Regions from separate parts of the Homo sapiens genome. Here regions 1, 2 and 4 are each linked to region 3. Evidence: promoter capture Hi-C in 16 types of primary human blood cells and fetal thymus (Javierre and others, 2016). All regions are on one chromosome and are shown on one strand. Each heading gives the region's core, a stretch centred on a gene start or on the middle of the fragment in contact. The rest is flanking DNA. Distances are from core to core; before and after follow the strand shown.

The links. The method cuts DNA at HindIII sites, captures the fragments that hold promoters and counts their contacts. A CHiCAGO score of 5 or more calls a contact.
Region 1: a contact is called between a fragment that was not itself captured here and the fragment with the promoter of RFPL3S in region 3, in 1 of 17 cell types (M1 macrophages). The highest score is 5.9, in M1 macrophages.
Region 2: a fragment that was not itself captured here is called in contact with the fragment with the promoter of RFPL3S in region 3 in 2 of 17 cell types (M1 macrophages and M0 macrophages); the score reaches 6.6 in M1 macrophages.
Region 4: a fragment that was not itself captured here is called in contact with the fragment with the promoter of RFPL3S in region 3 in 3 of 17 cell types (M1 macrophages, M2 macrophages and naive CD4 T cells); the score reaches 6.4 in M1 macrophages.

Annotation. Positions count from the first base shown.
Region 1 is chr22:31,954,598-31,960,131 of GRCh38, forward strand. YWHAH (tyrosine 3-monooxygenase/tryptophan 5-monooxygenase activation protein eta) reads left to right here. Exons shown (of 2, transcript NM_003405.4): 2 at 1,542-3,006. The coding sequence ends at 2,195. Among named protein-coding and RNA genes, the nearest start is that of YWHAH-AS1, 12 kb to the left of the region's middle. The HindIII fragment of the contact is 195 bases long and covers 1,703-1,897 here.
Region 2 is chr22:32,083,743-32,089,197 of GRCh38, forward strand. It overlaps SLC5A1 (solute carrier family 5 member 1), which reads left to right. Exons shown (of 15, transcript NM_000343.4): 8 at 697-917; 9 at 1,158-1,293; 10 at 2,478-2,585. Among named protein-coding and RNA genes, the nearest start is that of SLC5A1, 43 kb to the left of the region's middle. The HindIII fragment of the contact is 9,695 bases long and covers 1-5,455 here.
Region 3 is chr22:32,369,630-32,375,019 of GRCh38, forward strand. It overlaps RFPL3S (RFPL3 antisense), which reads right to left and starts at 1,635. Exons shown (of 5, transcript NR_104232.1): 1 at 1,569-1,635; 2 at 1,270-1,312. The HindIII fragment of the contact is 20,480 bases long and covers 1-5,390 here.
Region 4 is chr22:32,063,009-32,068,951 of GRCh38, forward strand. SLC5A1 (solute carrier family 5 member 1) reads left to right here. Exons shown (of 15, transcript NM_000343.4): 3 at 3,927-4,031; 4 at 4,959-5,018; 5 at 5,488-5,592. Among named protein-coding and RNA genes, the nearest start is that of SLC5A1, 23 kb to the left of the region's middle. The HindIII fragment of the contact is 1,055 bases long and covers 1,525-2,579 here.

The DNA.
Region 1 (5,534 bases), core at 550-3,049, 410 kb before region 3:
TAGGCAGGCCACGCTCCCTCTGAAGGCTCTAGGGAAGAATCCTTCCTAGGCACTCTCCCAGCTTCTGGTGGCTTCTGGCAACCCTTGGTGTTCCTTGGCTTGTAGATGCGTCACTCCAGTCTTTGCCTCCACTGTCACATGGCATTCTTCCTGTGTGTGTGTCAAAATCTCACTATCCTTATAAGGACACCTGTAATTGCACTTAGGGCACACCCTAATGTCCAGTATGACTTCATCTTAACTAATTACATCTGCAAAGACCCTATTTCCAAATAAGCTCACATTCACAGGAACCTAGGGTCAGAACTTCAGCGTATCTTTTGGCGGGGGATACAGTTCAACCACTGCAAAGTCTAATAATGCTCTTCCTACTAACTGCATAGCTAGTTCACTTGTAGTTGGCATCATGGAGAACTAAGGGAAGTTAAAGCTTGTGAAATTTAACTCTTCCACTTAAAATAATTGATGCTTCCATCCTTGATGACCAGAGTTTCCTGTGAGGTAGGTCAGAGTACAACTTCCTGCTGAGTAGCTGTGCTTCCTTTCACTAGGAGCTGGGGGTACTTTCATGTCACTTATGAATTGTTCTTCATTTTGGTTTGGGAGAGGGCTGGGAGTATCAGTTAGGGTTCCATGTGTAGCCACACAGGGCGAAGCTCTGGCCACTGGATCTGTGTGATGTTCCATCTGATCTGTGAAGCCCCACCATCTGTTAATGTGTATTTGAGGAGTGGTTGGTTCTTTCCAGAGTATAAAGCTGGAAGCAGAGTCTGGAACACTTCCAGTCTGTTGTCTTTGAACATTTGACAAAGGGACCGTACGATCTTACTGTTCAGAGTATCTTTTTTTTTTTTTTTTTTTTCTTTTGAGACGGAGGCTTGCTCTGTCGCTAGCTAGGCTGGAGTGCAGTGGCACGATCTGGGCTCACTGCAACCTCCGGGTTCAAGAGTTTCTCTTGCCTCAGCCTCCCAAGTAGCTGGGACTACAAGCGCGTGCCACCACGCCCAGCTAATTTTTGTATTTTTAGTAGAGATGGGGTTTCACCATGTTGGCCAGAATGGTCTCGATCTCTTGACCTCATGATCTGCCCGCCCTTGGCCTCCTGAAGTGCTGGGATTACAGGCATAAGCCATCGCGCCCGGCCTGTTCAGAGTATCTTTTGCAGAATGGCTGAAGCTCGAGGTTTTCTTCTTCACCATTATGTACTGCTGCTGTACAACCTTTTCATAATTATCCTTAGTCCCATTCCTCTACCAAGGTGAAAGCAACATCTTATCAGACCCGAATTATGAATTTCTCAAGCCCCTATGATTTTCTGTTTTGGGTGCCAAGTATTTATCTCTTCTGTTAGACTATAGTCTTTCTTCACATAGGGTTCATGTCTATATTGGTTTTATCCATGGGTGGTTTTTATTCTCCAGAGTGACTGACCTGTTCGTAATTCCGTTCTTGAGAAGGATTGTTGATTATGTTGAAGGGAAGGCTTCTTACCAAGATTTTCAGATTTTGCTTTCAATGTTTATCTTTTTGGGGTTTTGCAGGTGACAGAGCTGAATGAACCTCTCTCCAATGAAGATCGAAATCTCCTCTCTGTGGCCTACAAGAATGTGGTTGGTGCCAGGCGATCTTCCTGGAGGGTCATTAGCAGCATTGAGCAGAAAACCATGGCTGATGGAAACGAAAAGAAATTGGAGAAAGTTAAAGCTTACCGGGAGAAGATTGAGAAGGAGCTGGAGACAGTTTGCAATGATGTCCTGTCTCTGCTTGACAAGTTCCTGATCAAGAACTGCAATGATTTCCAGTATGAGAGCAAGGTGTTTTACCTGAAAATGAAGGGTGATTACTACCGCTACTTAGCAGAGGTCGCTTCTGGGGAGAAGAAAAACAGTGTGGTCGAAGCTTCTGAAGCTGCCTACAAGGAAGCCTTTGAAATCAGCAAAGAGCAGATGCAACCCACGCATCCCATCCGGCTGGGCCTGGCCCTCAACTTCTCCGTGTTCTACTATGAGATCCAGAATGCACCTGAGCAAGCCTGCCTCTTAGCCAAACAAGCCTTCGATGATGCCATAGCTGAGCTGGACACACTAAACGAGGATTCCTATAAGGACTCCACGCTGATCATGCAGTTGCTGCGAGACAACCTCACCCTCTGGACGAGCGACCAGCAGGATGAAGAAGCAGGAGAAGGCAACTGAAGATCCTTCAGGTCCCCTGGCCCTTCCTTCACCCACCACCCCCATCATCACCGATTCTTCCTTGCCACAATCACTAAATATCTAGTGCTAAACCTATCTGTATTGGCAGCACAGCTACTCAGATCTGCACTCCTGTCTCTTGGGAAGCAGTTTCAGATAAATCATGGGCATTGCTGGACTGATGGTTGCTTTGAGCCCACAGGAGCTCCCTTTTTGAATTGTGTGGAGAAGTGTGTTCTGATGAGGCATTTTACTATGCCTGTTGATCTATGGGAAATCTAGGCGAAAGTAATGGGGAAGATTAGAAAGAATTAGCCAACCAGGCTACAGTTGATATTTAAAAGATCCATTTAAAACAAGCTGATAGTGTTTCGTTAAGCAGTACATCTTGTGCATGCAAAAATGAATTCACCCCTCCCACCTCTTTCTTCAATTAATGGAAAACTGTTAAGGGAAGCTGATACAGAGAGACAACTTGCTCCTTTCCATCAGCTTTATAATAAACTGTTTAACGTGAGGTTTCAGTAGCTCCTTGGTTTTGCCTCTTTAAATTATGACGTGCACAAACCTTCTTTTCAATGCAATGCATCTGAAAGTTTTGATACTTGTAACTTTTTTTTTTTTTTGGTTGCAATTGTTTAAGAATCATGGATTTATTTTTTGTAACTCTTTGGCTATTGTCCTTGTGTATCCTGACAGCGCCATGTGTGTCAGCCCATGTCAATCAAGATGGGTGATTATGAAATGCCAGACTTCTAAAATAAATGTTTTGGAATTCAATGGGTAAATAAATGCTGCTTTGGGGATATTATCTCTGTTTGGTCTTGATTTTTCCCCCCTCGAGGAACTGTTTAACCAGTCACAAATTGTGGTTTGAATCTCTCAAACATGGAAGCATTTGTAGTACATTATCCAAGTTTTCCTCCCCTCTCATTACATTACATATTTTGCAGCACACACATAGGATTCATAGATTTTAAATAGTTTTCTGTGAACCCAGCTAACATAGCCTCTCTGATCAATTTTCCTGATAACTGGTGCTTTTTAATGAGCCTCGCAGAACAAAATGCAGTCTTCCACAGTATAGCACCTCTGAAACATTGTGGGCTCTGTTGAACTTGAGAGTGTATTTAACACTGAAGGTAAATACGGAGCTTATACACGTCCTCAAGTTTTCTTAATGTAATAAGATACTAGGGGCACAACTTGCACCCCTGAAATCTTTAGTGATTATTGTTAAGCATTTAGTATTCTTTAAAATAGAAAAGCAAACCTCATTGAGTTAAAAAGCCTAACCTACCCCTTAAACACTTGCTTAACCCCAATGTGTCTCTCGAGCCTCAGCATCACTGGCTGACTGTTCTTGAGTGAGGTGGTTTCCAGCTCCTCACGATTTTTATCACCTCCAGAGTGGCACCTAGGAATGAACGTTTGTTAGGTGAGTTGGTTCAGTTACACAGAACCCTTAAACGCCTTTTTCTATTTGTTTGTTTTTTTGAGATGGAGTCTCGCTGTGTCATCCAGGCTGGAGTGCAGTGGCATGATCTCGGCTCACTGCAGCTTCCACCTCCCAGGTTCCAGCCATTCTCATGCCTCAGCCTCCTGAGTAGGTGGGATTACAGACGCCACCACCACACCAGGCTAATTTTTGTATTTTTAGTAGAGATGAGGTTTTGAGTGTTGGCCAGGCTGCTCTCAAACTCCTGACTTCATGTGATCCACCCACCTTGGCCTCCCAAAGAGCTGGGATTACAAGCGTGAGCCACCGTGCCCAGCCTTAAACACCTTCTTGACTAAAGTTTGGCATTAGACTGATGGAAATGGCCATGACACAATCTCTGTCCTTGAATTTATATTGTGGAGCACATAACTTGTAAGCATGTAAGTTTAACCTGTTTCTTATTCTGAAGTAGAGTATGAGCCCCGCCCCCCATGCCGGGGCCGATGAATACGGCTCAGGAAGCCTGTTTCAAGTTGACCTAATTTTAAGATAAAGTGGTTATTGAGTTTCACTTCAGTTAGTAGGTCAGGTATTTGAAAGTCAACAAGCTTTATATGGCTAATACTTGCTTTTGATAAGCACGTAGACAAAATGTTGCTGGGCCATGGTGGCGTGCGCCTGTAGTCCCAGCTGCTTGGGAGGATGGAGCCCGGGAGGTCGAGGCTGCGGTGAGCCGTGATTGCTCCACTGTACCCCAGCCTGGGAGATAGGAAGACCTTTTTTTCTCTCTCTCTCTGTCTCTGATAGCAAGACCTCTCTCTCTCTCTCTTTTCTCTCTCTGTCTCTCTCTCTCTCACACACACACACAAAGGGCTCTTACATTTTCTTTTTTTGTTTGAGATGGGAGTCTCACTCTTGTCACCCAGGCTGGAGTGCAATGGCACGATCTCAGCTCACTGCAACCTTTGCCTCCCAGGTTCAAGTGATTCTCCTGCCTCAGCCTCCTGAGTAGCTGGGATTACAGGCACCCACTGTCGTGCCCGGCTAATTTTGGTATTTTTGTGGAGATGGGGTTTCACCATGTTGGCCAGGCTGGTCTTGAACTCCTGACCTCAAGTGATCCTCCCACCTCAGCCTCTCAAAGTGCTGGGATTACAGGCATGAGCCACTGTGCCCGGTCGCTTTTACATTTGAAATGTCCTTTGCAGTTGCTAAAGCATTCACATTTACGTTTTACAGCTGTCTTCTGAAAGGTTTTGTCCCACTTTACAGATGAGGAAGCTAAAGTGCAAAGGTTGTGGATCTCTGGAATTTATACAGCTGGTAAGCTAGAGGACAGCTTCCACCCAAGATTTATTCAGAATTTTAACGGCCCTCTGGGGGGCCTGGGGAACCTTGGCAAGCCATGCCACCTTTGAGGTTCAGGTCCCTCATTTTTTAAGTGTAGGATTTGGGTTATGTTTTAATCTAAGTTCATGGTGTGTAAGGCACCTTCTTTGGGAATGAGGTATGGGGAAGTATGGACATACGTGATTAATGTTAGCCACATAGGTCGCGTGCAGTGGCTCATGCCTGTAATCCCAGTACTTTGGGAGGCTGAGGTGGGTGGATCACTTGAGGTTAGGAGTTCGAGACCAGTCTGACCAATATGGTGAAACCCCGCCTCTACTAAAAATACAAAAATTAGCTGGGTGTGGTGGCTGGTGCCTGTAATCCCAGCTACGATGGAGGCTGAGGCAGGAGAATCACTTGAACCCAGGAGGCGGAGGTTGCAGGGAGCCGAGATTGTCCCACTGCACTCCAGCCTGGGCAACAGAGTGAGACTCGGTTTCAAAAAAAAGAAAGAAAAGGAGGTTAGCCACATAAATAATAGATGAGGCTCTTTGAAAGGACCTAAG
Region 2 (5,455 bases), core at 1,629-4,128, 280 kb before region 3:
TTATGGGAGGATAGAAAGTACATTTTATTTCTAGGTGCTCAAGGCCCACTGTGTATCCTGCAAAAACTTGTATTTGCTCTCCACTCTTCTGTTTTCTAAGGACTTTCATTTGGTTCTCCCCAGCAGGCCTTGGGTGTTAGCTAGGCAGGCAGTGGAATGACTTATTCAAGGACACACAATTGAGAGGTGGCAGGTTCTGGATTCCTCACCCATTCCCTGTCCATCCCACCACATGCTGGGTCCAGGAGTGGTAGGTGTGGGTCTGAGGTCCCAAAGGCCACTGTGTGTGTCTAGGTCTGTGTGTCTCTAGGCCTGAGTCCAAGGCTCCAAAGGCCATGGCTGACAGCAGAGGGTGAGGGAAAAAACAGAGTCTTTGTATGTGGTCCCAAACCAAGGTCTTTCTTTGATTAATAAAAGTCCCTTCCCTTTTACAAAGAGGTTTACAGTTGGAGTACTTTTACAAGTGATTGCTTTGGTCCCCATAATAGCCCCCAAGGGGGCTGGGCAGGGCTACTAATCTCATTCTATGGATGACAAAGCTGAGGCCCAGAATGGGAAGGTGATTTGCCCAAGGCCACTCAGTGAGGGCTCTGTCTGTGGGTTGGGTCCTCTCAGTTTCTCAGGCATCTATGGAAAGAAGCTGCTATGACGAGTTGAAGGTTTCAGAATGTTCATTTCTGTACCGATGTTTTCCAGCTTTTCACGAAGTGGGAGGCTATGACGCCTTCATGGAAAAGTACATGAAAGCCATTCCAACCATAGTGTCTGATGGCAACACCACCTTTCAGGAAAAATGCTACACTCCAAGGGCCGACTCCTTCCACATCTTCCGAGATCCCCTCACGGGAGACCTCCCATGGCCTGGGTTCATCTTTGGGATGTCCATCCTTACCTTGTGGTACTGGTGCACAGATCAGGTACCCAAGCTGGATGTGCGGGATGGACAGAGTCTTCTCCAGGGCCCTACAGGAACTCCTGTCTGTCTGTGGTTTGCAGGGTTGGGACAGGGAGGGGAGAGCTCAGGTGGTTTGTAAGTTGCCACGCCCCAGTGATACAGCAGTGCCAGGCCAATGACCCAAGATGGCGAAGCTAGGAAGTACAAAGGTGTCACAGGGTCTCTGGTCTGCACACCTCCCTTACTGGGCTTTTTCTGGCAGGTCATTGTGCAGCGCTGCCTCTCAGCCAAGAATATGTCTCACGTGAAGGGTGGCTGCATCCTGTGTGGGTATCTAAAGCTGATGCCCATGTTCATCATGGTGATGCCAGGAATGATCAGCCGCATTCTGTACACAGGTAATAACTTCTGCTGGACCCACAAACCACTCTCCCTTTTTCTGTCTCCAAGTCACTTCTAAAGCTCTATAGCTTCCCGCTTCCTCCTCTTTTTTTTTGAGACCAGGTCTCACTCTGTCACCCAGGCTGGAGTGCAGTGGTGTGATCATTGCTCACTGCAGTCTCCAACTCTAACTCCTGGGCCCTAGTGACCTTCCTGCTTCAGCCTCCTGAGCAGCTGGGACTACAGGTATGTACCACCATGCCTGCCTAATTTTTAATTTTTTTTTTTGTAGCGATGGGATTTTGCTATGTTGCTCAGGCTGGTCTTGAACTCCTGGCCTCAAGTGATCCTCCTGCCTTGGCCTTCCAAAGTGCTGGGATTATAGGCATAAGCCACCACGCCTGGCCCTCTTCTTTATTTGTTATGGTCATATCCAAGCATTATTGCTCCTGTGCTAGACAGTGAGCAACTTGAGGGAACTTTTGGAGTTGTCTTCCCTGGTTTCTTATGTCGACAATTGTTTCCTCCTTTTTTTTTTTTTTTTTTTTCAAATCTTCTAAAGTTATGACATGCCTCCAGGTCACTTCTCCCTAATAATATTTGCTCAATTGTTGCTTAATCTCTTGCTGTCATCCTTCCACCCTGAATGTTTCTTTGATTTCTTTCCTCCGTTGCCTAGAAATTGTCTTTCTTCCTTAGTCAGAGCTCATCAGTGTGTCAGGGCCAGCAGGGCGGGGCAGGCACCAAAGGGTTCTGTGGAGAGCTGCACTCCTGAGGAACCATTTCAGAGCCTTGGAAAGGAATATCCTGTTTGAAACCTTGTTTTAAGAAGGTGAATTTTGGCCGGGCACGGTGGCTCACGCCTGTAATCCCAGCACTTTGGGAGGCTGAGGCGGGTGGATCACGAGGTCAGGAGATCGAGACCATCCTGGCTAACACAGTGAAACCCTATCTCTACTAAAAATACAAAAAATTAGCCAGGCATGGTGGTGGGCGCCTGTAGTCCCAGCTACTTGGGAGGCTGAGGCAGGAGAATGGCGTGAACCCGGGAGGCAGAGCTTGCAGTGAGCCGAGATCGTGCCACTGCACTCCAGCCTGGGCTACAGAGTGAGACTCCGTCTCAAAAAAAAAAAAAGAAGGTGAATTTTGGAAATATTTCCCCAATGTCTGCTTGCTGACGTGGCTCTCCATCTCTTCCCAGAAAAAATTGCCTGTGTCGTCCCTTCAGAATGTGAGAAATATTGCGGTACCAAGGTTGGCTGTACCAACATCGCCTATCCAACCTTAGTGGTGGAGCTCATGCCCAATGGTGAGATTCTTTCTTGGGAGGTTGGTAGAGTCTTTCTTGGGAGGCTGATTGGGTTTAGGCACCACCTACATTCCTGTGAACCTTCTGGGCAAAGACATTTCTTAGCCGGGGGGTTAGAAGGGAAAGCATCATTGTGGGTGTCCTCAGTTTTTGGACATGTCCTCTCTCAGTGGGAAGGAGACATATGACTTGGTTGGGTTCTATGAGTTCTGGGACTTGCCCATCAGTCAGGCTTGGAAAGGAGATGATCTGAAAACTTGTTAGAGAAAAACATGACTTTCCATACTCATACAGAAGGTCTTTCAAAGCTCTCCAACAGTGGATGTAAATTAGCACACCCATTATGGAAAACTGGATGGTGGTCCCTCAAAAAATTAAAAATAGAACTACCATATGATCTAGTAATCCCATGACTGGGCATATAGCCAAAGGAAATGAAATCAGTGTTTTGAAGAGATATCTGCTCTCCCATGTTCACTGTAGCATTGTTCACAGTAGTCAAGATGTGGAATCAATATAAATGCCTATCAATGAATGAATGGATGAATGGATAAAGAAAATGTAATATACAGTATATACACAATGGGATACTATTCACCCTCAAAAAGAAGGAAATTATGTCATTTATGACAACATAAATGAACCTGGAGAACATTATGTTTAGTGAAATACTTTAGACTCAAACAAATACCACATATTGTCACTTACATGTAGAGCCTTAAAAAGTCAAATTTGTAGAAGCAGAGAGTAGAATGGTGGTTACTAGGGGTTGGGGTGGGGATCTGGGAAGATGTTGGTCAATGGATACAAAATTTCAGTTAAGAGGAATAAGTTCAAGAGATCTATTGTACAACATAGTGACTATAGTTAATAGCAACGTATTGTATACTTGAAAATTGCCAAGAGTAGATTTTAACTGTTCTCACCACAAAAAATGTTAAGTATTTAAGGTAATGCATATATTTGCTAATTAGCTCAATTGAGCTAATGTATAGATATTTCAAGACATCATATTATATACCCTCAATATACATAACTTTTACTTGCCAATTAAAAAATATTTTTAAAAAGCTCTCCAACAGATGTTAAAATGAAGGCTTGAACTAGGTCCAAGGGGTTTTACCTGGAGAATGAATTGACTTTTATGCTCTTCCAAGGAAACACATGGGGAAAGAGGCAAGATTTCAGCTCTAGAATGAGAAAGTCTGAGGCAGGAGATGGATGGCATTCAAGGCGGCTTGTCACCATAAAGAATCTGTTTTCCTAGGAGACTGAGTACTTAGCTGTGACTCCTGAATAGCTAGAGTTTTGTAGTTGACCTGTGGGATTACAGTCATGTTTCAGAAAAATCTCCTAATTCTGGCTCAAGGGATACAAATCTGGCTAGGGGGTTAGGTTAGGGGGTTTCAGGAGAACAAAACTTCAAAGTTATTACCTAGAAAAATTTAGAATAAACCTATAAAATTGTATTACTGAAAAGAAACTTAGAGACTAGTCAAATTCTTTCATTTTACAGTTGGGGAAACGGAAGCCAATAGAGGGGAGGTGAGTTTTCCAGGGCCAGGCAGGAACGTGGTGTCTGGCATTTGGCATGCTTAACGCTGCTCAAGGCTGGAATTGAGGAATTCGGGAGAGTCTTTTAAAAAATTAAAAAACTACAAACTTCATGCATGACTTTGGGCAAACCATTTGCATTCAAATTATATAAAAATGGGAATAATACTTAACTAGCCTACTGAGCTGGGCTGCTTATTCATAAGGTTACAATTAGCAGGAGTCACAGTGACTCTTCTAGAAAAGTTCTGGCATGGATTGCATTGGCCTCTGTGGAGTGTTTATGTTATTCCTTTAGGTGGGCAGACCCTCCTAGTGAGGACTAAACATTATGCGGGAGTGGACTGTGCACAACAGAAAGATGTGTGGCATGCAGAATAAAATGCCGTGCTTCCCTGTGCCATTGCTAGTCCCTCCTCTTGGCTGTAATCTGGCTTCAGTAAATACTGCATTCCTTTTTTTTTTTTTTTTTGAGATGGAGTCTTGCTCTTATCACCCATGCTGGAGTGCAATGGCGTGATCTCAGCTCACTGCAACCTCCACCTCCCCAGTTCAAGCAATTCTCCTGCCTTAGCCTCTGTAGTAGCTGGGATTACAGGCACCTGCCACCACGCCCAGCTAATTTTTTTGTATTTTTAGTACAGACGGGGTTTCACCACATTGGCCACGCTGGTCTCAAACTCCTGACCTCAGGTGATCCACTCGCCTCAGCCTCCCAAAGTGCTGGGATTACAGGTGTGAGTCACCATGCCCAGCCTACTGTATTCCTTAATGACCTCCCTGTGCTAGACTAAATAGATATTTTCCATTCCTCACCTTACTGGATCCCTCAGTGGCATTCAGCATTATCGATCACTCATCCTTCTTGAGTTGTTCTCTTCTCTTGGATTCCATCATACTGTATTCTCCTGTTTGTCTTTTTAAATTTTCCCCATCCTCTCTGGCTGCTCCTTTTCATTCCATTTGCAGATTCAGCCTCCTCCACTCAGCAAGTAGGTGATCCTCCCACCAATCCACACCAACTTGTGTCTATTTTGTCTCCTAATGTATGTCTCTCTATTTTTACTTTTGTTACCCTAGTCTGATAGACCATTATTTTTTGCCTAGACCACTGTAAAATTATGCACTGTAAAATTGTGTTCAGCAAATATTTGTTGAGTAATTAAATGAATGGGGTCTGATAAGAGTGTCATACAGTGGGGAAAGTTCTATCCCAGCTTACCAATTTCAAGGCAAAGTAATCCTGAACGAATGGCAGAGCTAGGGCTGAAAGCCCTTCCTACTAACTCCTTGAAATGGACCTTTATCAACTGAAA
Region 3 (5,390 bases), core at 385-2,884:
ACAACCTCCTTAGAAAGAACTCTGAAGGATAGGTCAGGAGAACTAAGTCACACAATCCATCAGAAACAGTATTAACAGTTTTTCAAAGTTACACTTTATATGCAAACTTGTACAATTATCATCTTATTATTTTTAAATGTATCTTTACATATATGTATGTGACCTACGTGTTTCCTGGTGTGAGTAAATCTGTATGTTCTTGGTTAATAGTGTTTACCGATTCATTTCACTTCTCTATCTTTGTATGTTGAAATATGAACTACTCTCTGGATGAGAAAAAATGATTACACTTGATTATATTTACCTTTGGAAAGGTAAGTGGTTTGGGTGATTGACTATAATTGTTATCTCTATCATTTTGGATAAACCCCAATCATAAAAATAAGTGTGTTTTGTTTCACACACTGACACATAGACAATACACATTCTTACTTCTTTTCAAAAAGTTAATATGTGAATATAAATGACATATTCCAAATTTACTAAACTGAATACACATTTCATGAAAAAGGAGAGAGGAAAGACATACTAAAAACAGGCCAGGGCCTGGTGTGGTGGCTCACGCCTGTAACACCACCACTTTGGGAGGCCGAGGCAGGTGGATCACCTGAGGTCAGGAGTTCAAGACCAGCCTGGCCAACATGGTAAAACCTTGTCTCTACAAAAATACAAAAATTAGCCGGGCATGATGGTGGGTGCCTGAAATCCCAGCTATTCGGGAGGCTGAGGCGAGAGAATCATTTGAACCCGGGAGGCGGAGGTTGTAGTGAGCCGAGATCGCACCGTTGCACTCCAGCCTGGGCGACAGAGTGAGACTCCATCTCAAAAACAAACAAACAAACAAAAAAACAACAACAAAAGACAAAGATGGACACACTTCGTTGTGTTAAAAGCCTCAAAGACATCTGCATCATTCTAGCTTTGCTCCTAATTTTTAAAATTAATGATTTTAATAGGTTCTTAATTAGGTAAAAACTGCATTAAAACATACTTTGCCATATTTTTCCCAGAAGGATACCTAATTGGGTGGTTTGAGGGGTGCCAGATGTAACAGGAAATAAGACATGTCTTTTAAATAAAGGAAAAGCTCAAAGGCATCCTGCTTGATACTAGAATCAAATATATAAATTGAGGAATAAAACATAACCGGGAAACACATTTATAACTGCATATGAAAAATACAGAGGAGAATTTTTTAATAAAATATATTTTTAAATATTAACTAGTACATTTGAGAGGACAGCATTCAACAGGCCAATGTGAACATACCTTTAATGCAGGAACTCAGGTTCCCCATAAGAAAGACCAGAATCTGTGAAAATGACAGCAAGCATGTTCAACCTGCTATGAACTTTGAAAAACTCAGCACAGACAGTGGCAGTTAGGACCGAGGGCAAGATATACCCAATCACATAACCATGGTGATAGGAGCATCATCAACGTCTCAGGGTAAAGTCACAATGTGTATTGTGAGGTCCGCTTTCTGCTGCACCAACAAGAGTGCTTTCACACGCACAGGAGGGTCATTAAAGATTAGGCCTTTTACGGCAGGGAGTGGTGGCTCACACCTGTAATCCCAGCACTTTGGGAGGCCGAGGTGGGTGGATCACGAGGTCAGGAGATAGAGACCATCCTGGCTAACATGGTGAAACCCCGTCTGTACTAAAAACACAAAAAATTAGCCGGGCGTGGTGGCGGGAGCCCCCAGCTACTCGGGAGGCTGACGCAGGAGAATGGCGTGAACCCGGGAGGCGGAGCTTGCAGTGAGCCGACATAGCGCCACTGCACTCCAGCCTGGGCGACAGAGCGAGACTCCGTAAAAAAATAAAATAAAATAAAATAAAATAAAAGATTAGGCGTTTTACTTAAAAAAAAAACAACAAAACCCAAGCTCATTAATTACTATTCTGTGCTTATTAAAATAAGTTTTAGGAGGAGAAATTGTGTACCCCAAAATACACTCAATGGCAAGAATTTCAAACTGAGCAGGGGCAAAACCGATATGTTAGTAACAACCAGAAGTTCCATTCTCGATTCGAAATTCCATTGCCAAATATTTCTACCATTCCTGAGTCATCTAATATTTCTAGAACCAATAAGCAAACTGTTCAGAATTAAAGACAGCATAAATGGATATTGTTATAAAAGTCATGTTTCTTAAAAAGTGACATTTTTTAAAGTCACATTTTAAAAGTCATATTTCCCTAAAAAGTCATATTTCTACCATTCCTGAGTGATCTAATGTTTCTAGAAGCAATAAACTGTTCAGAATTAGAAAAAAGTGTTACTTGATATTATAAAAATCATATTTCTCTCACAATATAATTATGAAACTTATTTTTCCACTTATCTCTATATATTACTATGCACTTATTTATCTCCCAAACTTTGTGAATTCACAGAGGAATTTGTCTACCATTGTGTATGTAAACGGCTGGCCATTCACTGAGTATTTAAAGGAAAAAAAAATCACTATATTTTCACCAGTGCATCTTCTCGGTGGGGTGAACACTTTGGGTGAATACATATAATTTTTTATTTGAGACAGGGTCTCACTCTGTCACTCAGGCTGGAGTGCAGTGGCTTGATCATGGCTCACTGCAGCCTTGACCTCCCAGGCTCAGGTGATCCTCCCAACTCAGCCTCCCATGTAGCTGGGACTACAGGTTCTTGCCGCCATGCTCAGCTAATATTTTGTAGAGATGGGGTTTTTCCATGGTGCCCAGGCTGGTCTTCAACTCTTGGATTCAAGCAATCCACCCACCTCGACCTCCCAAAGTATTGGGATTAGAGGCGTGAACCACCATGCCCAGCCTAATACATATAATTAAAGTGTTTCTGAATGCAGAATTTTAGATAACTTTCAAAATGTATAACTACGTGTGTATTCTGGCTGATACATAACACCCAATTGCAAATACTTTTATGATATGCCCAAGAAAACAAGCTGTTGAAAGTGACCTGCCCTAAAATAAATAGAACAAATGAAAATTTTAGGGTTAAGATGAGAGAGTTGCTATGTTTCAAAGAGAATAGGTACCCTTCATGATATAAATATTACAGTACAAATGTCTATCATTGCTAAGTACAAATTTCTAGAACAAATAAATAGGTCACAAATGATGTATACAATCTGCATTAATATAGATGATGCTATATTTTGTCCAGTGATTATAAAACAGAGGGTGTAATGGGGTAGGTGCTGAAAGAATAGGTCATTCTGTGTTGTTATAAACAGAAAATTTCAATGGCTTCCAGATTGAACAAATATATGTATATACACAAATTATACACACACACACACGATACTATAGTTATATGTGTATGTGTTTGTATACTCAGAAATGCAGCAAACTAAAAAAAAACTTTAACAATCCCCACAGATTCATGCTTCTGAATGCTCAAATGGAGGAGAAAATTTAAAAAGAAGTGGAAAATATAGTGAGAAAATCTACTCATCCTATTGGAGGAGCTGATATCTATTTTAAGTTTAGAGAGGCAGGCTTAAATAAGTAAATGTTTAGGATTTGAAATTTAATTGTACAAGTATTTTTTTCGTTGAATTTCCTCCCAACTTTGTAAAATCATCAGATCAAAAACACATCATTTGATTAGGGTGCAGTTTTATAGTACCTAACAATCAAGATTTTGGAAAAAAAAAAAAAAGTTGATGATGGTGAATTTTGATAAATTCTAACATTGTCCTAGTTGAAAGAGGTAAATATGTTTTTATATGTGCTAAGAATTGTCTAATTTAAGAGTACAATGATGTTGTTATGACTGTTGATAAATTTCAATCGTTTTTGAAATTATAACTAAAAGAATGTTTTTATTTGGCTATTATTCCAGTTGATTTCAACAATGCTAAGTGAAATACATGTATCAGAACAAAATCATGATGATGTCACAAATGTTAACTATCTAATAGCTACTGTAGGTCAGACTTTTTTTTAATTTGAGTCTAATTTGTTTCTTCCATCTTAAAACTCTCTAACATGAATTAAAGGGCTAAAAAGATGTACTGATTAGACATTTTTGATTAAAGGTTTGGTAAACTAAACAGTACTTTCATCTAGCATTAGGAATATTGAAAGCAAGAAAATGGATTATTTAGTAACTATGTAAAATGCATTAGTATTAGAGTTGCATTACTTAGTATTGTGGTTGTCATCTAGCTTTTTTTTTTTTTTTTTTTAAACGGAGTCTTGCTCTGTCGCCCAGGCTGGAGCGCAGTGACGCGATCTCAGCTCACTGCAACCTCTGCCTCCCGGGTTCACGCCATTCTTCTGCCTCAGCCTCCCGAGTAGCTGGGACTACAGGCGCCCGCCACCACGCCCGGCTAATTTTTTGTATTTTTAGTAGAGACGGGTTTTCACCGTGTTAGCCAGGAAGAAATGTTAGTGTAGAAAGGTAATATATTCCAAAAGAATCTGTTTTTCTTAATGAAGAGTATCCACACAGACACTCATAGCAAAAAAAATTATAAGATGCATCAGAGATAAATAAAATAAAGTGTAGTCTTCCTAGAGCTGGATTTAGTTTCTGGTTTGATTTATTTTAACGACAGACATAAGAGATCACTTCGTAATGAAGTACAATTTCACACTATAGAAACAGAGTAAAAATATCTTTTTGAAGAAAATGCCAAATCTACCTTTAATCTCAAGGAAATAGGATCGCTCAAATAGATCTGTTAGCATGTTACATATTAATAGACAACCTGCTGTGTAAATTACTTAAAAGCCATCTTTTGCAAAAATTTTCTCCCATTCTGTAGGTTGCCTGTTCACTCTGATTATCGTTTCCTTTGCTGTGCAGAAGCTCTTTAGTTTAATTAGATCCCATTTGTCAATTTTGGCTTTTGTTGCCATTGCTTTTGGTGTTTTACTCATGAAGTCTTTGGCCATGCCTACGTCCTGAATGGTATTGAGTTCATGTCCTTTGCAGGGACATGGATGAAGCTGGAAACCATCATTCTTAGAAAACTAACACAGAAACAGAAAACCAAACACCACATGTTCTCACTCATAAGTGGGAGTTGAACAATGAGAACACATGGACACAGGGAGGGGAACATCACACACTGGGGCCTGACGGGGGTTGGGGGCTAGGGGAGGGATAACATTAAGAGAAATACCTAATGTAGATGATGGGTTGATGGGTGCAGCAAACCACCATGGCACGTGTATACCTATGTAACAAACCTGCACGTTCTGCACATGTATCCCAGAACTTAAAGTATAATAAAAAAATAAATAAAAATTTAAAAAATGGTTAAAAAGCCATATTTTAAAAGGTTTTTAAAATTCACAACATACTCCATTTTTGATATAACTTCTAATATTTCTTCTCTGTGGTAGAAATTTGTTCCTGAGAAATAAGAGGCCAAG
Region 4 (5,943 bases), core at 802-3,301, 310 kb before region 3:
CTTTTTGCTGTGTCCTCATATATGGCCTCTTTACTGTGCATGTATATGGGGAGAGAGAGAAAGAGATTTCTGGTGTCTCTTCTTATAAGGACACCAATCCTATCAGATTGGGGCCCCACCCTTATGAGCTCATTTAACCTTATTATCTCCCTAAAAGCCCTATCTCCAAATACCATCACCTTGGGGGTTGGGGCTTTAACATAGGAATTTTGCAGAGAGGACACAATTCTGTCTATAACAGTATCCATTGTAGCTTTTGCTAAGTGTCTTTGAGGGTGAAGTAATTATCCTCTTGGGAGGAGAAAGGAGGGAAGGGACACTGATTGAGAATCAGCTGTGTCAGTCACAACTGGTTCATTATTTCATTTGACTCCTGCACCAACCCTGCCATGAGAGAAGACGGAGGCTTGCAGATGTTCTAATCACCCAGAGAGTAAGAGGTCAAGAAAACATTCAAACTTGAGTTGTAAAGCTCATGCTGTCTCTGCACTTGAGGGAACTTTACCTTGAAACCTTGCTATATTCCTAAGACAGTTTTTAGGCCTGTAGCTGTCAGGAAGACCACCTGACAGGCCCTTTTGGGTGTCCAGGAAAGTCTCTGAATAGGTCAGTGTTATGATCAGAGTTGTGCTTTAGGGAGGTTGCTTGGCCATGTGGGTGGGTGGGGAGGTGACTGATGGAAAGGAGAGAATAGAGATCCTCTAGCAGCCCGCTACTTGGTCCTGTTGAGAGATAGTGACAGGCAGCACAAGGGCTATCTAGAAAGAGCTAGGTGGCCATAATATTGTGAAGGCAGAGTCAGAGTTTTGGTAAATGATTAAGTGTAGGTCATGGGGTAAAGAGAGGGAGTCCAGAATGAGGAAGGTTGTTCCCCTAATAGAAATGAATAGAACCTGGGCTCAGGACATTCTGATACCCGAACTCTCCTGGCCTCATTCCACTCTCTTCTCAGATAGTGAGTGGGGACTTCAGGACAGCCTGACATTGCTTAAAGGACAATGTCCCTGTTTGGGAGAGATATTGGAGAGGACTTTTTGAACTTATGACTCATCTAATGCAGTTAATAATTTCTGGTAATTATGTCCTTAATAGTACAGCATTAGGCTTAATTATTTATCAAGCAAGAGGTGATAAATGAAAAGATAGTGGGTCAGGGCAGGTAGGCCACTTGCAGAATGAAACTTTTGATTAAAAGTGGACTGTTAGGCTGGGTAGGGTGGCTCACATCTGTAATCCCAGCATTTTGGGAGGCCAAGGCGGATGGATTGCTTGAGACCAGGAGTTCAAGACCAGCCTGGGTAACATGGCGAACCCCCGTCTCTACAAAAAATACAAAAACTAGTCGGCTGTGGTGGTGCGCGCCTGTAGTCCCAGCTACTTGGGAGGCTGAGGCTGGAGGATCACTTGAGCCTGGGAGGCAGAGGTTGCAGTGAGTTGAGATGGACCACTGCACTCCAGCCTGGGTGACAGGAATAAAACCCTGTCTTAGGAAAAAAAAAAAAAAGTGGACTGTTATCCCCCTCAAGCTTTGAGCAGAAGGAGGTAGATGTCTCTAAACAACCTGCCTTCCCCTAGTTTCCCCTTCTTAATGAATGGCGTCCACCCAGTTACTCAAGTCCCAAATCTAGGAGTTACCTTTGATTATTCTGTCCCACATTTCCCACATCTAACCTATCAACAGAGCCTGCCAACTTTGTTTCTAAAACATACTCCCTAATCTCTACGCTTGCCTTTGTCTCAACTGCTGTCACCCTAGTCCAAGCCACTGTCCCCTCTCACCTAAGCCAGGGATAGTCTCCCAGCTGGTTGTTCTATTTTCTTCCTTGCCCCCAACACTGCAATCTATACACAACTTAGAGCAATTTAAAAAAGCAAATTAGGTCCTGTCCCTCTCCTGCTTAAAATCCTCCAGTGTCATCCCATCTCACTTAGAATAAAACTAACTTTTTTTTTGAGTCAGGGTCTCACTCTGTCACTTCAGCTGGAGTGCAGTGGCACGATCATAGTTCATTGAAGCCTGCAGGTCCTGGGCTCAATTGATCCTCCCTCCTCAGCCTCCTAAGTAGGTAGTACTACAGGCACGCACCACCATGCCCAGCTAAGTTTTTACATTTTTTTTGTAGTGGCCGGGTCTCACTATGTTGCTCAGGCTGGTCTCCAACTCCTGGTCTGAAGCAATCCTCCTGCTTCAGCCTCCTAAAGTACTGGGATTAGAAGCATGAGCCACCACACCCAGCCTAAATGACTCTATTTTAAAATGTTAAGATCACAAATCATTATCATATATCAACCTTCTTTTTGCTTCTCAACTGTGCATACCTGTGTCAGGGGGTCTTTGCTTAGGTGGAATGCTATTCCTGTGGTCTCTGAATGATTAACTTTTTTGTCATTTAGATCTCAGCTTAAAGGTCTGAATTATAATAGTAATTCTTTAATATTAGAGAAAGTCCATAGAGTCACCTTCTCAGACTCTTCAATCTAATCACTCTGTCATACCCTCTATTCTCTTCATAGCACTTACCACTCTCGGATCATTGTTTTTGTTGTTTATTTATTTATGTTTACAGTATTTGAATATAAGCTTCTTGAGAGTAGGGATTTTGTCTGTGTTATTCACAGCTGTTATTAGTGCTTAACACGTGTAGTAGATGCTAAGTTAATATTTGTTGAGCAAATGTATTAATGCACCTGCACCAACCACTGTCTCCTCATTGTCATTCTGAGAACTTCTTCTGGCTAAGCCTTCAGAAATCTCCCTCTCCCCTGACTTAATATTTGGCACTAAGCACCAGCTGCCTTATACTGGGAATAGGGGCTGGTATAGTTAGAACAGTTTCTTGGCATAATCTCTTTTGGGAAATAAGCGTTTTGTTCCAGGTTTGGACCATCTTTGGGACATTAGATAAGTAACTACAAGCCACTCTTCATCTGCTTAGCAAGAATGGGGATAATTACACTTGTTTGGTTCTTATCAAATGCTGCTGTACCTTCTCCTCTTGGATACAGAAGGACTTTAGAACTTTCTGGAGTTCTTTTTGGCCTCAAATGCAATTGAATTGCTGACACAGTATTATGATTGGTTGTGCAAGATCCCTCTCTTGCTTTACCTGATACTTTCTTTTTTTGTCTACCATTCACAGTCTTATTCTCCTTTCCCCTTCCAGTCTTCCACTCTTGGGTATTTGATACATGTGCTTCCAATCTGTCTTCTATAATCTGTATTTAGACATGTGCGTATCCTTGAAAAATGCAGTGTTTTGTGCACGTGTCCGTGTGGTCCCTAGAACCTTTGTAAAAAGTATCAATACTGTATGATCTAGAGAATCATTATTATTATTAATATCATCTCTGTTACTTGGGAGTTCATGGAGTCACATAATTTAATAGCTAGGAATCACTTGCAAATCATCAGCTCCACGCCCCTCCTCATTTGACCAAATGACTAAGGTCCAGAGGCTTCCTTTGAAATGATTTCTCTCAAGAAAATTGTCAGTGTTTACTGAGAGCCTGTATTGGGCAAGACCCTAAGCCACCAGGCATGCTGGGGGATATGGAGATCAAGGGCTCATGCTCCTAGGCACACAGCCTTGAAGGAGATTTTTAGGGAGGCCTGGTGGCTGTGGGACTTCCCATATCTTCTTCAGGATTGGACACGGGGCCCACAAAAGACTCACAGATGATCTGGTTTTGGGATACATCCCACTGCTCCTTCTCCAATCCTCTCCTTTTCATCTTTACTGTTTTCCAAGTTTCCACATCTGCCTTCTGAACCAGCTGTCCCTGATGATTCCAGCACAGTTTTCTCCCAGCCCACCTCTGCTCTTTCTTGTCCTTCTCTTGGCTGACATGTCTCCTCTCTCTTTGACCCACTCTGAGTGTCCTGGGAGAGCACAGAGCCCTCACCTGACTTTCTTTTGCGTTTCCAGATTGGAGCCTCCCTCTTTGCTAGTAACATTGGAAGTGGCCACTTTGTGGGGCTGGCCGGGACTGGGGCAGCTTCAGGCATCGCCATTGGAGGCTTTGAATGGAATGTGAGTAACACTGCAGCCATGGTGCACTGGGGCTGGAAGGAGCCTTAGCAGTCAACCAGTTCAATCTATGCTCAGAGGAGCTGAAGATGTTAGGGAACCCTTCAGGGTCACCCCAGGGTGCAGACAGAGGAGGGGCATGACTTCAGGAGCCTCAGGGCCCTGCTCCCTTTCCACCAGAGTAGCATGAGAAAACCACTGGTATGACAGCAATAGTATTTTTTCTGTTTTCTCTTCATGTTAAAAAGCCAAGGCCCTTCTAGCCATGTTTGAGGTTTGGAAATGCTTACCACCAGATTTCCATTATTATTATTATTATTTTTTTTAAAAAAATTTTTATTATTTTATTTTTAGAGACAAGGTCTTGCTCCACTGCTCAGGCTGGAGTGCAGTGGTGCAATCATAGCCTACTGCAGCCTCAAACTCCTGGGCTCAAGCGATGTTCCCACCTCACTCTCCCAAGTAGCTGGGACTACAGGCATGTGCCACCATGCTTGGCGAATTTTTTAATTTTTTGTAGAAGCAGGGCCTCACTATATTGCCCAGGCTTGTCTTGAACTCCTGGCCTCTAATAATAATAGTAGTCGTCATAATAAATGTAATTATTAATTATTATTATTGTTATTATTAAAGCTCTCTAAATGGCATTTTACTCTGTGTAAACCAGGGAAGAGGTGAAGGAGAACCCAGTGCTCTAGCTGTGGCCCACTGCTGTGATGTTGATGAGCAGCCTCCTGGGCTCCTCTCTGCTGTTTTCTAGCTGCTATTTCCATGGGTCAGTTAGGCAGCAAAGGCCTCCTGCAGTCTCTAACGGCTCCTTAGGGGAGAACATGCTGGGTAATTTTTCTGCAGCAGCTGAGGGGCCCTTCAGGTGGCAGGGATGGGCTAAGTTTCCTCCTAATTTGAGTCCACCTTTTGTGTTCATTTCAGGCCCTGGTTTTGGTGGTTGTGCTGGGCTGGCTGTTTGTCCCCATCTATATTAAGGCTGGGGTAAGTATCTGCTCTGTTATTTCATTTCCTGCTGGCAAATGTATCTGTCAGCTTGGTCTTCCTAGAGGGCAGAGGAGACATTATGGGATAAATGGCAGAAAAATCTGTGGATTGGCTTTCACTCCCAGGTTATGAAATTCCCGACTGTCTGCAGTGGCATTATATGGATATATTCCTCCTCCTCCTCCAGGGCAAGGGTCTGGCTCCTTAGTGATGCCCAGTGACAGGTTTATTGGGCTGGGATAACACCTAGCTACTCCTACAGTGGTAGGGCATATGGGATTAAAATGAGCAAATGGCTGGAGGTCAGGGGCCATCTGGCCACCTCGCAGACTTCTCTGGCCAGCAAAAGTTATGAATCCTTGACCACACTTCTGTGGCTCTGATATTAGGATGGTGTCACTGTTCTGTCTGCTCTGGGCCCTCTGGTCACTGTGGCTGGCAGTGACCTCCCTCGCACCCCATGCAGGTGGTGACAATGCCAGAGTACCTGAGGAAGCGGTTTGGAGGCCAGCGGATCCAGGTCTACCTTTCCCTTCTGTCCCTGCTGCTCTACATTTTCACCAAGATCTCGGTGAGTCCACTGCCCCAGAGGGCTGGGCTGTCTCAGAAGCTGCCACTCTCATTCCTCATCACATGCTGCCCACCAAGAGGCGGCTCTATACATTTCTATTAACTTGGCCCCTTAAGCCTTCTTGCGCCTTGGAGTAGAGTCCTATTTCTGCATCGAGGAGCCAATGGAATTCAATGGAAATCTGTCCTCCACTGTGGTGCAGGCTGAAAACACAAACAGGTTTGTGAAGGTTCAGGGAAAGCAGTTCTTAATAGAAGATTAAAAGGGAGTTAGGGATGGAATTCCCTATGATCCAGCAATCTCACTACTGGGTATATATGTAAAAGAATTGAAATAAATATATCGAAGAGG